4 separate regions of the Homo sapiens genome follow, and all the other regions are linked to region 1. Evidence: promoter capture Hi-C in human tissues and cell types (Jung and others, 2019). All regions are on one chromosome and are shown on one strand. The core of a region is centred on a gene start or on the middle of the fragment in contact, and the rest is flanking DNA. Distances in the headings are between cores, read along the strand shown.

The links. The method cuts DNA at HindIII sites, captures the fragments that hold promoters and counts their contacts. A contact is called where the count stands out against the background at its distance.
Region 2: a contact is called between a fragment that was not itself captured here and the fragment with the promoter of RBFA in region 1, in 2 of the 25 tissues and cell types used here (heart left ventricle and lymphoblastoid cells).
Region 3: a contact is called between a fragment that was not itself captured here and the fragment with the promoter of RBFA in region 1, in 1 of the 25 tissues and cell types used here (dorsolateral prefrontal cortex).
Region 4: a fragment that was not itself captured here is called in contact with the fragment with the promoter of RBFA in region 1 in 1 of the 25 tissues and cell types used here (lymphoblastoid cells).

What each region holds. Positions count from the first base shown.
Region 1 is chr18:80,032,620-80,036,127 of GRCh38, forward strand. RBFA (ribosome binding factor A) reads left to right here and starts at 1,815. Exons shown (of 7, transcript NM_024805.3): 1 at 1,815-2,034. The coding sequence starts at 1,877. It also overlaps a transcript of TXNL4A not described here. RefSeq lists silencers at 1,101-1,270, 1,302-1,458, 1,341-1,660, 1,671-1,750, 1,861-2,010. The HindIII fragment of the contact is 12,317 bases long and covers 1-3,508 here.
Region 2 is chr18:79,363,486-79,366,993 of GRCh38, forward strand. The region is part of intron 26 of ATP9B (ATPase phospholipid transporting 9B (putative)); the gene reads left to right. Among named protein-coding and RNA genes, the nearest start is that of NFATC1, 31 kb to the right of the region's middle. The HindIII fragment of the contact is 8,130 bases long and covers 1-3,508 here.
Region 3 is chr18:79,410,731-79,414,238 of GRCh38, forward strand. NFATC1 (nuclear factor of activated T cells 1) reads left to right here. Exons shown (of 10, transcript NM_001278669.2): 2 at 1-771. Among named protein-coding and RNA genes, the nearest start is that of NFATC1, 17 kb to the left of the region's middle. RefSeq lists an enhancer at 435-950. The HindIII fragment of the contact is 4,795 bases long and covers 1-3,508 here.
Region 4 is chr18:79,466,400-79,469,907 of GRCh38, forward strand. NFATC1 (nuclear factor of activated T cells 1) reads left to right here. Exons shown (of 10, transcript NM_001278669.2): 8 at 1,051-1,183. It overlaps LOC107985162 (a long non-coding RNA gene), which reads right to left. Exons shown (of 2, transcript XR_001753518.2): 2 at 2,920-3,508. Among named protein-coding and RNA genes, the nearest start is that of NFATC1, 72 kb to the left of the region's middle. The HindIII fragment of the contact is 4,601 bases long and covers 1-3,508 here.

The DNA.
Region 1 (3,508 bases), core at 565-3,064:
ACTTGAGGTCAGGAGTTTGAGACCAGCTTGGCCAACATGGGGAAACACCGTCTCTATTAAAAATACAAAAAGTAGCTGGGTGTGGTGGCACACAGCTGTAATCCCAGCTACACGAGAGGCTGAGGCGGGAGAATTGTTTGAACCTGGAAGGTGGAGGTTGCAGTGAGCCGGGATCACGCCAGTGCCCTCCAGCCTGGGCGGCAGAGAGAGATTCCATTTCAAAAAAATAAAACTTAACCATGGCAATGCAAATTGATAGCTTATCTTTACAGGTGCAGTCACCCTAGCCCATCTGATTGTTCCCCTACCACATTTTGTCTGCGTTATCTTATGTAAAATGCAGATTCCCCACGTTTTTCCTCTGCCCGTTTGTTTGTGAAAACTCTGCTTCTCAATACTCCGCCCTTTCCCCTTTAAATCTGGGGCCCTCAAAATCATTTTTGGAGAAAGGCGTAGACCTGTCTCCTGGGTGCGTCCTTAACTTTGGCAAATAAATCTCCTAAAATGATTAGAGACTTGTCTCGTCGTTTTCTTCGATTGACAATATATACACACATACATACGCATACACACACACATATATACGCGCACGCACATGCACACATATACATGTCCACACACATGCACACACACGTACATATGCACACATACACATGTACACATCCACACGCGCCCACACACACACACACACACAGACGTGTCTCACACCACAGCAGCCGCCTCGGGGGAGTCACAGCCCACGCATCCCCAACACTGCGGTCGCGCTCACTTCTCTTTCCACGCCCGGGGGGAGCAGCTTCCCCGCTGGGCCACGCTGACTCTGGGGAGGCGGGCGGGGCGAGACCACTTCTGGGGAGGACGCCCAATCTGGGGACTTTCTCTAGGTGCCCGGGGAGAAGGCGGCGCAGCAGCAAAGCCCTGGAGGGCCCAGTGGCGGAAACAGACGGACCCCTCGCAGCCTCCCGCCGACAGCGGCCCTGCCCAGGTCTCCAGGCTTCGATGCCTTCGTTGCTTTGTGCGGCGCACCCGCCTACGTCAGTTCCCAGTATTTAAACAAAACGTGTTCCTAGCTACGCAGCGCCAGGCAACCAGGCGGTTCCCACGCTTCCCCGAGTGGCACACCCTCCGCGCAGCCCACGCGGCCTCCCCACGCCCAGCTCCCGCCGGCCCCGCCTCGCGTCGTCCTTCGCCCCGCCCCCGTTGCCGCCCCCCCCGCCCGCACACTGCCCACCTGGCGTTGTCTTCACCCCGCTTACACGCCGCTCGCTTCGCTCTGGTAGTCGCCCACCTCGCGCTGCCCTTCTCGCTTCAGTCTTCGCCCTGCCCACCCACCGCCCACCTCGCGCCAGTCTTCGCCCCGCCCATTCACCGCCCGCCTCGCGTCAGTCTTCGCCCCGCCCAACCACCGCCCGCTTCGCGTCGGTCTTCACCCCGCCCACTCGCCGTTCGCCTCGCGCCTTCGCCCCTCCGCCGTTGTCGCCCCGCCCCTTCTTGCGTCCAGTCTTTGCCCCGTCCCTCGCCGTCGCCCCGTCCACACGCCGTCAGCTTCGCGTCTGTCCTCGCCCCGCCCACCTACCGCCCCCCTCGGGCCTTCGCCCCTCCGCCGTCGTTGCCCCGCCCGCCTTGCACCCCGTCTTCGTCCCGCCCCGCGCCGTGGCCCCGCCCACACGCCGTCAGCTTCGCGTCTGTCCTCGCCCCGCCCTGCATCATCGCCCCGCCCTGCATCATCGCCCCGCCCACACGCCGCCTGCCAGGCGTGAGTCTTCCTCCCGCTCTGCGCCGTCGCCCCGCCCACACGCCGCCACCCTCGCGTCAGTTGTCGCTCCGCGCCTGCGCCCGTTGTCTCCCTGCTCGCTCCGGGTCCCGGCGCCGCGCCATGTGGGCTGCGGCGGGCGGGCTGTGGCGCTCCCGCGCGGGTCTCCGGGCCCTGTTCCGTAGCCGCGATGCTGCGCTATTTCCAGGCTGCGAGCGGGGACTTCACTGCTCTGCTGTCTCCTGCAAGAACTGGCTCAAGAAATTTGCCTCGAAAACCAAGTAATGCGGCGGGGGCGGTGTCCCTGGGCGCGGTATTCCCTAGGGGGCGGTGTCCCCGGGTTGCGGTGTCCGCTCATCCGCGTTCTTGCGCCCATGCGGCCTAGCTCGCCAGTTCCTGCCTCCTGGGGTCTGCAGCAGTTCTAGCTCTCACTGTCAGCATTTGCAGCTTTTGTGTTCGTGGACGTGTGTCGGGTTAAGAAAACAAAGTGACAATGTGTGTTTATTTTGATTCTTGTCACCAGACGTATTTTTCAGAAGATTAGTTTCAGAAAATGAGGAAAAATGAAAAAATATAAGAATTTCCTTGCTAATGTTGACTTTCTGTGTGAATTTGAAGACTAAAGCTTGTCATGATAATTAGTGTTTTTAAATTATGAAAGATAAGTACAATAAAATACATTGACTTTTCACACTGCTTTTAGTTCTTCTAAGTATGGTAGGTGGTTGTATGTTTTCTACTTTAATACACTACTTTTAAAGACAGTTTTAGACCCTGCAGAAAAATTGCAAAAATAGTACCGCGTTCCTGTGTCCTGGCACCCAGCTCCCCCTGTGTTAGCGTCGGACTTTAGCTTCCAACGTGTTCCAGTTAATGAGCCGATATTGATAAGAGTGTTGCTAACTGAAGCTCATACTTTATTCACTTTTCCTTGGTTCTGCCTGCTGTCCCTTCCTGTCCCAGGTGCCCACCCAAGGTCCACGTTACATTGAATTGTCTTGTTTCCTTAGGCTGGGGTAGTGTCCCAGACTGTCCCTGGTTTTGATGGCTGTGCCAGTTTTGAGGGGTACTGGTCAGGTGCTTTGCAGGATGCCTCTCTGTTGGAATGTGCCTGTTTTTTTAATGCTTAGACGTGGATTATGGCTTTTGGGGAGGAAGACTACAGAGGTAAAGGCCATTCTCATCGCACCGTATCCAGGGTCCACGCTGGCCGTGATCCCCTGCATGAGGTGCTTGCCAGGTTTCTCTACCGTAAAGTTACTCTTTTTGCCCCCTTTCCTTACTGTACTCTGGGAGAAAGTCGCTGTGTGCAGCCCATGCCTAATGAGTGGGGAATTTTGCTCATAAGTGGTTTGCATTCTGCACAAGGGATATGTCTCTTCACCCCATGTATTAATTCATTCATATCACCAAGAACTCATGGGTTATAATCCCGTGTTACTTAGTTTTGTTCGAATGTTTCCAGCTCAGGCCCTTAGGAGCTCACTAAGCTCCTATGTCCTGTTTGCATACCCTGTCATTGTGGGGTTTTGCTGGGTTCTGTGTGTGTTAAACACTTTCCTACTTTCTGGCACTACAAGATACTCCAGGCTCATCTTGTGTGTTTCGTACCACAGCCCTAAAATCAGCCATTTCTCCAAGAAGCCCTCGTTCCTTTTATTGGAGAGAGAGATTAGAAACCATGGGTGCTGGGTGTGTTCATTGCTTCTGGGGTGTCTGTCTTTTGGGCCATCTCATCTGACGAAAGGATATATG
Region 2 (3,508 bases), core at 632-3,131, 670 kb before region 1:
ATGGATTGAGAGGCATAAACAGATGTTCATGGATTGAGAGGCGTAAACTGATGTTCCTGGATTGAGAGGCGTAAACCCATATTCCTGGATTGAGAGGCGTAAGCAGATGTTCATGGTTTGAGAGACGTAAACTGATGTTCCTGGATTGAGAGACATAAACAGATGTTCCTGGATTCGGAGGCATAAACAGATGTTCATGGATTGAGAGGCATAAACCCATATTCCTGGATTGAGAGGCGTAAGCAGATGTTCATGGTTTGAGAGACGTAAACAGATATTCCTGGATTGGGAGGCGTAAACAGATGATCCTGGAATGAGAGGCGTAAACAGATGTTCCTGGGTTGGGAGGCGTAAACAGATGTTCCTGGATTGAGCCTCAATTAGATGTTCATGGATTGAGAGCCTCAGTATTGCTTCACATTGACAAGCTCACTCTAGAATTTATATGGCAAGGCAAGGGAACTCGAATTGCCAAAATAATTTAGAAAATAACAGAGTTGGGCCGGGCGCGGTGGCTCACGCCTGTAATCCCAGCACTTTGGGAGGCCGAGACGGGCGGATCACGAGGTCAGGAGATCGAGACCATCCTGGCTAACACGGTGAAACACCGTCTCTACTAAAAATACAAAAATTAGCTGTGCATGGTGGCGCGCACCTGTAGTCCCAGCTACACGGGAGGCTGAGGCAGGAGAATGGCGTGAACCCGGGAGGCGGAGCTTGCAGTGAGTCGAGATCGCGCCACTGCACTCCAGCCTGGGCGACAGAGCGAAACTCCGTCTCAAAAAAAAAAAAAAAGAAAAGAAAAAAAAGAAAATAACAGAGTTGGAAAACACACTACCTGATTCCAAGACTTACTGTAAAACAGTAATCAGTTAGACAATGTGTTATTGTCAAAAGGATAGACAAAAAGATCGGTGGAACAGAAAAGAGAGCCCAGAAATACATCACATGTGTCAGATGATCTTTGGCAAACATGAGAGGAAATCAGAAGGAGAAGAGTTGTGTCTGCAGCTGTTGGGACAATTCGCCGCCCATGAGCAACAGACCCACAACCTCCACCTCACACTTCATGTGAAAATCCACCCAAAGTGGACCCTTGACCTATATGTAAAGCTATAAACCTTTCAGAAGAAAATACACACAAAATATGCATGACCTTGGGTTAAGCAAAGAGTTTTTAATCATGAGATCAAAATCATGATCCTTAAAGGAAAAAAATAATAAATTAGACTTTACCATAATTTAAAAGTTTTGGCCAGGTGCAGTGGCTTATCATGCCTGTAATACCATCACTTTGGGAGGCTGAAGCAGGAGGATAACTTGAGCCCAGAAGCTCAATACCAGTCTGGGCAATATAGTGAGACCGTGTCTCTACAAAACATAGAAAAAAATGAGCTGAGCATGGTGGTTGCTGTGTGCCTGTAGTCCCAGCTGCTCAGGGGGCTAAGGTGGAAGGATTGCTTGAGCTGAGGAGTTGGAGGCTGCAGTGAGCTGTGATTGAGCCACTGCACTCCAGCCTGGGTGACAGAGCGAGACCTTGTCTCAAAAAAAAAAAGTTTTTCTCTCTGAATGATACTGTTAATGAAAAAACAAGCCACAGCCTAGAAGGAAATATTTGCATGTCACACTTTTGATAAAGGAGTTGTTTCTATAGTATATAAGAAACCCCCAAAATTCAACAAGAGAACAACCCAGTTTTTAAAGTAGACAGAAGATATTAACAGACACCACCCCAGAGATAATCCACAGATGGCAAGGAAGCCTGTGAAGATGCTCAGTGCCATTTTCATCAGGGAACTGCAAGTTGAAGCCACCGTGAGATGCCGTGTACCCACCCGTGCTAGAACAGCCGAAATACCAGCAACGTGAAAGGCTGGGGAGGGTCCAGAGCAGCAGAGACTCCCCTTCACTGCTAGGGTGAAGGGAGAATGATACAGCCTCTTCGGAAGACAGTTTGGGCATTTCTTACAAAGGTAAACATGTATTTACCCCATGACCCAGTAGTCCTGTTCCTAGGTATTTCTCCAAGAGAAATGAAAACTTAGATTCATACTAAATCCTATATATGAATGTTCACAGCAGCACTGTCATAACTGCCAGAAGCTGGAAACAACCTTGTGCCCTTCAGCCAGTGGGCAGAAGGATGTCTCCGTGGACAGGGACAGCCCATGCGTGGATGGAAGGACATCTCCGTGGACGGGGACAGCTCCCGCGTGATGGAAGGACATCTCTGTGGACGGGGACAGCCCATGCGTGATGGAAGGACATCTCCGTGGACAGGGACAGTCCATGCGTGGATGGAGGACAACTCCGTGGACGGGGACAGCCCGTGTGTGATGGAAGGACATCTCCGTGGACGGGGACAGCTTGTGCGTGGATGGAAGGACATCTCCGTGGACGGGGACAGCCTGTGTGTGATGGAAGGACATCTCCGTGGACAGGGACAGCCTGTGTGTGATGGAAGGACATCCTAGTGGACATGGCCAGCCTGTGTGTCATGCCACCAGGCAGTGGGATTGTGCTTAGCAGTGAGGGGTTACTGCTGACTCACATGACATGATGGATCATACATTGTGCATTTTGCTGTGCAGCAGAAGCCAGACTTGAAAGCTGGTATTGATTCTTTTTACCGGACACCTGGGAGGTGCAGAACTGTAGGGAAGAGACCCGTCCGTGGTCGCTAAAGGTTTGAGTGTAGAGGGTGACCGGAGAGGCATCCCGAGGGGGTGTGGGTGTGGAAGCTGCTCTGTCTGGCGCGGTGGTGGCGGACACCTGACCGTGCCTCTCTCAGAGCCCGCTGGACGGCACCAGCATGGAGCTAAGGGAGGAGGAATGCAGACAGCGGCCCATGAACCGCAGAACCACACTGTGGGCTGGGAAGAAAGGAGCTCTTTTCAGTGGCCTTGGGAAAGGCGTTTGACTGTGGTTCACTGTAAGGCTGAAGACAAAAAGAACTGCAAACCGTGGGCTGCGTTTGGCATTTGCTTCTTACAGGAATCAATAAGCCCATGCATGGTAGCTAATGAGAAGCAGATTTCTCCCTGTTAGCGATGAAGTTAGAAATGAAGGGCTGGATTGAAGCCCAGATCAGTTTGGGCTTGTGGTTTCTGTGAGATAAATAAATAGATGAAGAAATAAACACGGACATGTGTGAGCATGACTTAGTAAACACACACAGTCCTAGGCCATACACCGAGTGGCTAGAATCAGGAACCAGGCGGTAGTGAGCAAGCTCAGTGTTGCAGATTATGCGGACGAGACCCTGTGCCGTCCCCCACCACGCAGAGCCCTAGAGAAGGGGTTAATTCCAGGGCTGAGGCAAGGGAAATACAAGATGAGCCTGAAACTTCTTGTGGAGCAAAAAAGTAAGGAACTGCTGAACAAGAATCAGTGAGGCTGGTGCGGGAGGCAGGTCTGACGGCGTCAGAGGCTGAGCCTCCCACGGGCTAGCACTGAACACCCTGCACAGCAACCTAGACAGCAGCATGACTAGATGATAACCAGAGAG
Region 3 (3,508 bases), core at 636-3,135, 620 kb before region 1:
CTCCACGGCCACGCTGAGTCTGCCCAGCCTGGAGGCCTACAGAGACCCCTCGTGCCTGAGCCCGGCCAGCAGCCTGTCCTCCCGGAGCTGCAACTCAGAGGCCTCCTCCTACGAGTCCAACTACTCGTACCCGTACGCGTCCCCCCAGACGTCGCCATGGCAGTCTCCCTGCGTGTCTCCCAAGACCACGGACCCCGAGGAGGGCTTTCCCCGCGGGCTGGGGGCCTGCACACTGCTGGGTTCCCCGCGGCACTCCCCCTCCACCTCGCCCCGCGCCAGCGTCACTGAGGAGAGCTGGCTGGGTGCCCGCTCCTCCAGACCCGCGTCCCCTTGCAACAAGAGGAAGTACAGCCTCAACGGCCGGCAGCCGCCCTACTCACCCCACCACTCGCCCACGCCGTCCCCGCACGGCTCCCCGCGGGTCAGCGTGACCGACGACTCGTGGTTGGGCAACACCACCCAGTACACCAGCTCGGCCATCGTGGCCGCCATCAACGCGCTGACCACCGACAGCAGCCTGGACCTGGGAGATGGCGTCCCTGTCAAGTCCCGCAAGACCACCCTGGAGCAGCCGCCCTCAGTGGCGCTCAAGGTGGAGCCCGTCGGGGAGGACCTGGGCAGCCCCCCGCCCCCGGCCGACTTCGCGCCCGAAGACTACTCCTCTTTCCAGCACATCAGGAAGGGCGGCTTCTGCGACCAGTACCTGGCGGTGCCGCAGCACCCCTACCAGTGGGCGAAGCCCAAGCCCCTGTCCCCTACGTCCTACATGAGGTGAGCCGGCAGCGCGGGGCGGGACGGGGAGGCGAGGGGAGGCGCGGGGCGGGGCGGAACGCGGGGAGCGGGACGGGGGGCGGCGCGGGGCGGCCGTGTCTGGGGACGAGAGTCAGGACCTGGGTGGGCAGGTGGGCTCCTCGTGGAGCTGGGAGGCAGAGTCTGTCCCCATGTCTGCCTCCTCATGCAGACTTTTCCTTGTGCGCCTCGCCTCTGCCTCCGTCTGCGCGTTTCCCATCTGAAGTCTCCAGATCCTCTCGGGCCCTGCTGATGGCCTCGTGTTCGCTCAGTCTCTGCAAACACCCATTTCAAAGAGGGTGGCCCTGCTGGCGGTCAGGGCTTCCACGTGGGAATTCCGGGAGACGCCATCCGCCCCTAAGGAGGGCTCACACACGCGCAGTTTCTTCCTCGGGGAATTGCACGTGCCTGGCCCCCCTCGGTGGTTGCCTGCTGCTCCCGCTTCCTCCCCTGCAGTAATTGCCTTCCCTGCCTCGGGTGCAGATGGGACCGCAGCTCAACAGTGCCCCAGAGCACCCAGTCCGCCACGCTTTGGAACAGCACGGCCTCCTGCTCCCCAGAGACGCCGGCTGTGGCATCAGGCTGGGGGAGCTCACGCGCCTTCCTTCTTTGGGTCCCAGGTTGTTGGTTTTTCTTTTTAACCGTGTGAGGGGCTGCTGGAATTCCGCTGGGTCCACTTAACCAGCTTGGTGTTTTTATCTCTAACGAAACAGCTTTCCCAGCTGGTGGGCTGTGAGTGGCCCCTGAGAGTGCTTTCTGCTCTGGGATTTTTATCTGAGGCATGAAAACGTCCGTGCAGGAGGTCGAGGGCAGTGCCCCATGGCCCGTGACGTCAGGGCTGCCGCTGTGTCCTCAGGAAGAGGCGTTTGCCACGCGCAGCCCGGGGTATTCCAGGCTGGGTGTTTTCCTGTTTTTGTTTTTTTTTTTTTTTCGTCCCTCCCCACCCCCCACTCCTTTTTTATTAGCGAGCACTCAGGGGGCGAGACCCCGCAGAGCGGAGGGCAGGTGCAGCCCCCATGCCTGCAGGGTGAGGAAGGCAGGCAGTGAGGGTGCTCTGGGAGGACCCGTCTCTGCTCTGCAGTCTCAGGCCATGCTTCAGCCATGGCTGGAGCACGCATGGACAGAATTAGAGCTACAAGCAGTAACAAGCCTCCAGGCTGGGAACGAACCCACCCAAACCTCTCTGAAGGCTTGTGGCAAAGAAACAGTGTTAGAGCTGACAGTTCTTTGAGCAGCCCCATGGCTGATTCTGCCTTTCTACTGGCGTGATACTTAGAATCGTCGTCAGCTGAGGTTTCGAGAGAAAGCAAGGATTACCCCTGATTTTTCTTGACTTGCAGTGGGCGCATTTACCTTTCTATCCCAACTTCTGTTTTTAATACATTAAGGTTTAAAAGGCTGGCGTATTCTAGGTGATCACAACGAGCCTGTGTCAGGACCCGGATTGTATTTACAATAAAAATCCCATTCAGTTGGAGGCATTGGGAAAATTTAAGAACTGTTTTTGCCTGCTGTACTATCACTGTTATTGTTTAAGTAAAAGTACAAGCGTAGTGGCACTGACTCTCCAGCCCACAGTCATGTACAACGCGCTTCATGGTCTCCAGGCTTACGGACGGTGACAAAGTCGTCCATCACCGCGGAACTTCACTGAACTGGCGAGATAAGGGAAGAGTGATGTCATCAAGGTCCCAAGACTGGGACTTGGCATGAGGAGTGTCGTAATGCAGTTGTGAACCTTTGGGTGAACCCCACGTATTTGTTTCCTGGGGCTGCCCTGACAAGGTCCCGCAGACGGGTGGCCTTCATAGCAGGAAGGTTTTCTCGCGGGGTCCTGAGACTGGAAGCCGAGATCAGGGGCTGTTCTTTTGGAGGCTGTGAGGGAGCATCTGCCTGACCTGTCTCCCTGGCTTGGAGGCGCCGTCTTCTCCCCATGACTCCTCATCTCTCCATCCACCGTGCATGTCTGTGTCCAGATGTCCCCTTTTGTGAGGACACTGGTCCTGCTGGGTTGGGGCCACCCTGGTGGCCTCATTTGAACTTGATCGCTCTGTAAAGACCCTCTCTCCAGACACAGCCCCACGCTGGGCAGGACTCCATTATGTGAGTTTGCGGGGAGCACCGTTCGGCTGCCTCAGCCCCGGTCTTACTGTCGCAGTAAAAATGGCAGGCAGCCTTTGAAAGCGCAAGCTCGTCCTGGTTCCTTCTTCGTCTCCTGGGCGGCAAGGTGTCCGCAGGGATGTCGTGTTCTGGCAGGCACAGCCCCTCCTGTCCACCTTGGACCTGTGTTTGGTGTGGAGGTTGGAAAGCATGGGTGGCTGTTTATTTTTTCCTCTGCTTGGGGGTTTCAGGAAGAATTCCGTGCCCACGTGACCCTGTTAGCTTTATCTCCTGGCTGCAGAGCGCCCAGTTAGGTGTGATGCCTGTAACATTTCTGAGTGTTCACACAAACAAAGCTCAGTAAATATGTCCCAAACTCGCTCCTGGGGTTTGCAGTTAACCTTTTCCCACTGTTCTGGTTCCACATCAAAATATGTTTCCTGGTTCCTTGTGCCCTGTTTCCAAGTGACCTCGTCAGCGGGTGCCCTGGGGCAGCTGGAAGCCACGGCAGAGATGAAATGTTAGTTTTTTACCAGCGAGGTGGAGAGGCCAGACTTCCTTCCCCAGGAATGCCTCTCCGTCGGTCACATGCAGCAGCTCTGGCAGGCGTGGAAAATGT
Region 4 (3,508 bases), core at 535-3,034, 570 kb before region 1:
CTCGGCAGGGATGCCTGCATCACCCCAGTCATTTAGGGTCATCAGGGGCCCGAGTAACGCTGGGGCCTGAGCACGCGGTTGGGGTCTCCGTGTCCCAGCCCCCCACCCAGCCCCGACCTCTGCGAACAGCGCCACACGTCCCATGGCTTGTGTTTCATGTGTATACTTGAAGGAGCATGAGTTTCGTAAACATGCTGCTGGCTGTTACATTAAAAACATGAGAAGGTAACGGCAGCCTCCACACGCCGCCCTCTGCTGTCTGTGCCTCCGTGCCCTTGGCTGTTCCCACCCCGGGGTCTGCGGGGGTCAGGGCCTGCCTCCTCTTCCTCAGTTGGAGTGAATTTGGGGTCTGACTGAGGGCCTCGGCCATCGTCAAATGTGACAAACACAGGCCCTCCCCAGAGACCGCGTCTCCAGGAAGCACCTGCTCCTCTGGGTTTCGCTGCAGTCACCTGAGCAGGTGCTGGGCCACCGAGCACTTCCATCACACAGTGGCTGGCGGCGGAGCCTTGGGTCGTTTTCTGAAGGTCACCAACCCTTTGGCATCAGAGCAGGCAGAGCCTTTTGCATCCCCGCCAGTCCCCTTGCCCAGGTGGCCCCGGGCAACCTCCACCCTCAGGCACCCGGTCCCAGTTCTGTTTACAGCTTCTCTTTTCCTGGCTTCTTTCCCCATATTGACAAGATTTCAGTCTTAGGTTGGTCTTGTCTGCTGTGCTGCTCTGAGGAAGCCTCTCGGCTCCTGGGTGTGCAAGAAGCCAAGGGCAGCCCCTTCCCTGTGAGCGTGCGTGTCCACACGCGTGTGCAGGTGGCACAGAGCATCCAGGGCTGTCATCAGCTGCTTCTGGACCGCCCAGGTGGCTGCTTGGGAGTTTACCGTCACGGCAGTCCTGTGCTGCCGTGGAAACGCGGGGTTGCCGTGTGGCCGCCGTGGAAACGCGGGGTTGCCGTGTGGCCGCCGTGGAAACGCGGGGTTGCCGTGTGGCCGCCGTGGCGCGGCAGCCATCGCCTGCCCGGTGCTGATTGTGCCTCCTGTGTGCCCTTCTCCTGTAGAATTCTCTGGTGGTTGAGATCCCGCCATTTCGGAATCAGAGGATAACCAGCCCCGTTCACGTCAGTTTCTACGTCTGCAACGGGAAGAGAAAGCGAAGCCAGTACCAGCGTTTCACCTACCTTCCCGCCAACGGTAACGCCATCTTTCTAACCGTAAGCCGTGAACATGAGCGCGTGGGGTGCTTTTTCTAAAGACGCAGAAACGACGTCGCCGTAAAGCAGCGTGGCGTGTTGCACATTTAACTGTGTGATGTCCCGTTAGTGAGACCGAGCCATCGATGCCCTGAAAAGGAAAGGAAAAGGGAAGCTTCGGATGCATTTTCCTTGATCCCTGTTGGGGGTGGGGGGCGGGGGTTGCATACTCAGATAGTCACGGTTATTTTGCTTCTTGCGAATGTATAACAGCCAAGGGGAAAACATGGCTCTTCTGCTCCAAAAAACTGAGGGGGTCCTGGTGTGCATTTGCACCCTAAAGCTGCTTACGGTGAAAAGGCAAATAGGTATAGCTATTTTGCAGGCACCTTTAGGAATAAACTTTGCTTTTAAGCCTGTAGTCCTGATGTGGTCTTTAAGGATGGTGAATGAGCTTTGTGCTGGGCGGACGTCCCCGAGACACTTCTCCAGGGGTAACTTCATCTCCTGGGACCACGGGCATCCAGGCTGGGGCACCTTCTCCTCAACCTGCCTGCCCCTCACCCGCCGTGGGAATGGCTCCTTTTCACTCATACAAAAAAAAAAAAAAATCATCTTACCTTTTTAACCTTTAGGGTGTTTTCTTAAAGAAAATACCATCCAGTTTGTTTCTTCAGTCCCTGAACCAGTAGAAGAGAAAGGCGTCCCCCACGCCATCCCCGGCTTCCTTTGTGGGTACAGGCCACTCCCCCCAGCTCGGAGAGGACAGAATTAGCAGTCATCCTGAATTTTACTGTATTTTGTGGGTACAGGCCACTCCCCACAGCTCGGAGGGGACAGTTAGCGGTCATCCTGAATTTTACTGTATTTTGGGTAAGCTTAGCTAACATCAATAATCTTTTTATATTGCTTTTTTTCTAAAAACTGCAGAGATTCCTGTCATCTGAGAGGGAAATTACACACTGGGCGCTAATTGCAAAAGCAGCTGCGTTCTCTTAGTAAAATCAGGGTGTTTTGGAAGGTTTCCATTTTCTCTGAATGTAAACAGCATTTGTAATAGACCAGATCCTAAGGAAGCCCTTGAATCCCCACGTTCACACCAAACTGTTGGGACTCCTTGTTTTTATCAGGCAAGCTCTGGAAAGGCCTCTCAAGATGTGGAAAATGGGGTTTTGCTGTAAAGTCGCTGTACCCTAAGAGTGTCTGTGAGACAGAGCTGCAGGGGTGATGTGCAGCCCCCAGCCCAGCCCTCGCGGGGAAGAGCCTCACGCTCTGTGACCCCCAGGATTGTGGGGAGGGCCTCATGCTCTGGGACCCCCGGGATTGTGGGGAAGAGCCTCATGCTCTGGGACCCCCGGGATTGTGGGGAAGGGCCTCACGCTCTGGGACCCCCAGGATTGTGGGGAAGAGCCTCACGCTCTGGGACCCCCGGGATTGTGGGGAAGAGCCTCACGCTCTGGGACCCCCGGGATTGTGGGGAAGGGCCTCACGCTCTGGACCCCCCTGGGGTTTACGTGGTCTGTGCCGCCCACACTTAGTGAGTCCAGCCCATTCTTGGAACAAAGTACAATATATCTTACAGAAGAAAATATTTTATCTTTTTCTGAAAATATAATGATTGAGTCCTAATTAAACTTCAAGCATGGTTGACCAGAAATTGAATGTTTTAAAGAAAACCTAGGCCTTATAGAGAAGGATTGCTTTCCAGAGCAGTGCATTAATTTTTTTCTTATTTGCTCAGCATGCGGCAGTCCCCACCGTGGGTTTGAGCAGCACTGACTTTAGCACAGATCACGTATCTCAGAGGCAGAAGGGGCGTGCGGGGAGCGTGCCTGCCCTTCACAGGTGGGAGGTGGCGGCCCCCAGGACCGTGGCCACAGCATGAAGCCGGTGGGGCTGAGCCGCTCCTGCTACCTCCAGTCCACACCCCACCTGGCAGCCGGCCGTCCTGTCCTACCAGCCACACTCCTGCCTCGATTGGCCCCGGCTCCCCTCTCAGCATTGTGCCCAGCGTGGACATCTCTCCTGCACCCCCTGCCCAGTGTCTCGGCTGCACCCTCCACCCCCCATCTGCTCCAGCATGGCTCAACGCAGGCCAGGTTCCCCAGGCTCACCCTGGGCACCAGCCTTCGCCCGTTCTCCCTCTCTTTGCCTCCGTCGTCTCTTCTCTCCTGGACGTAGCACCATAGTCCCTGGGTGACCATCCCAGGTCCCCACAAGCACACTGACCAGCCCCACCAGCCCCCAGGGGCTCCCCGGCTCCCTGTCACCCCACCTGGTCCTGGGGGCTGCGACCGCAACCTGCACCAGACTGTGAGCCCCTCAG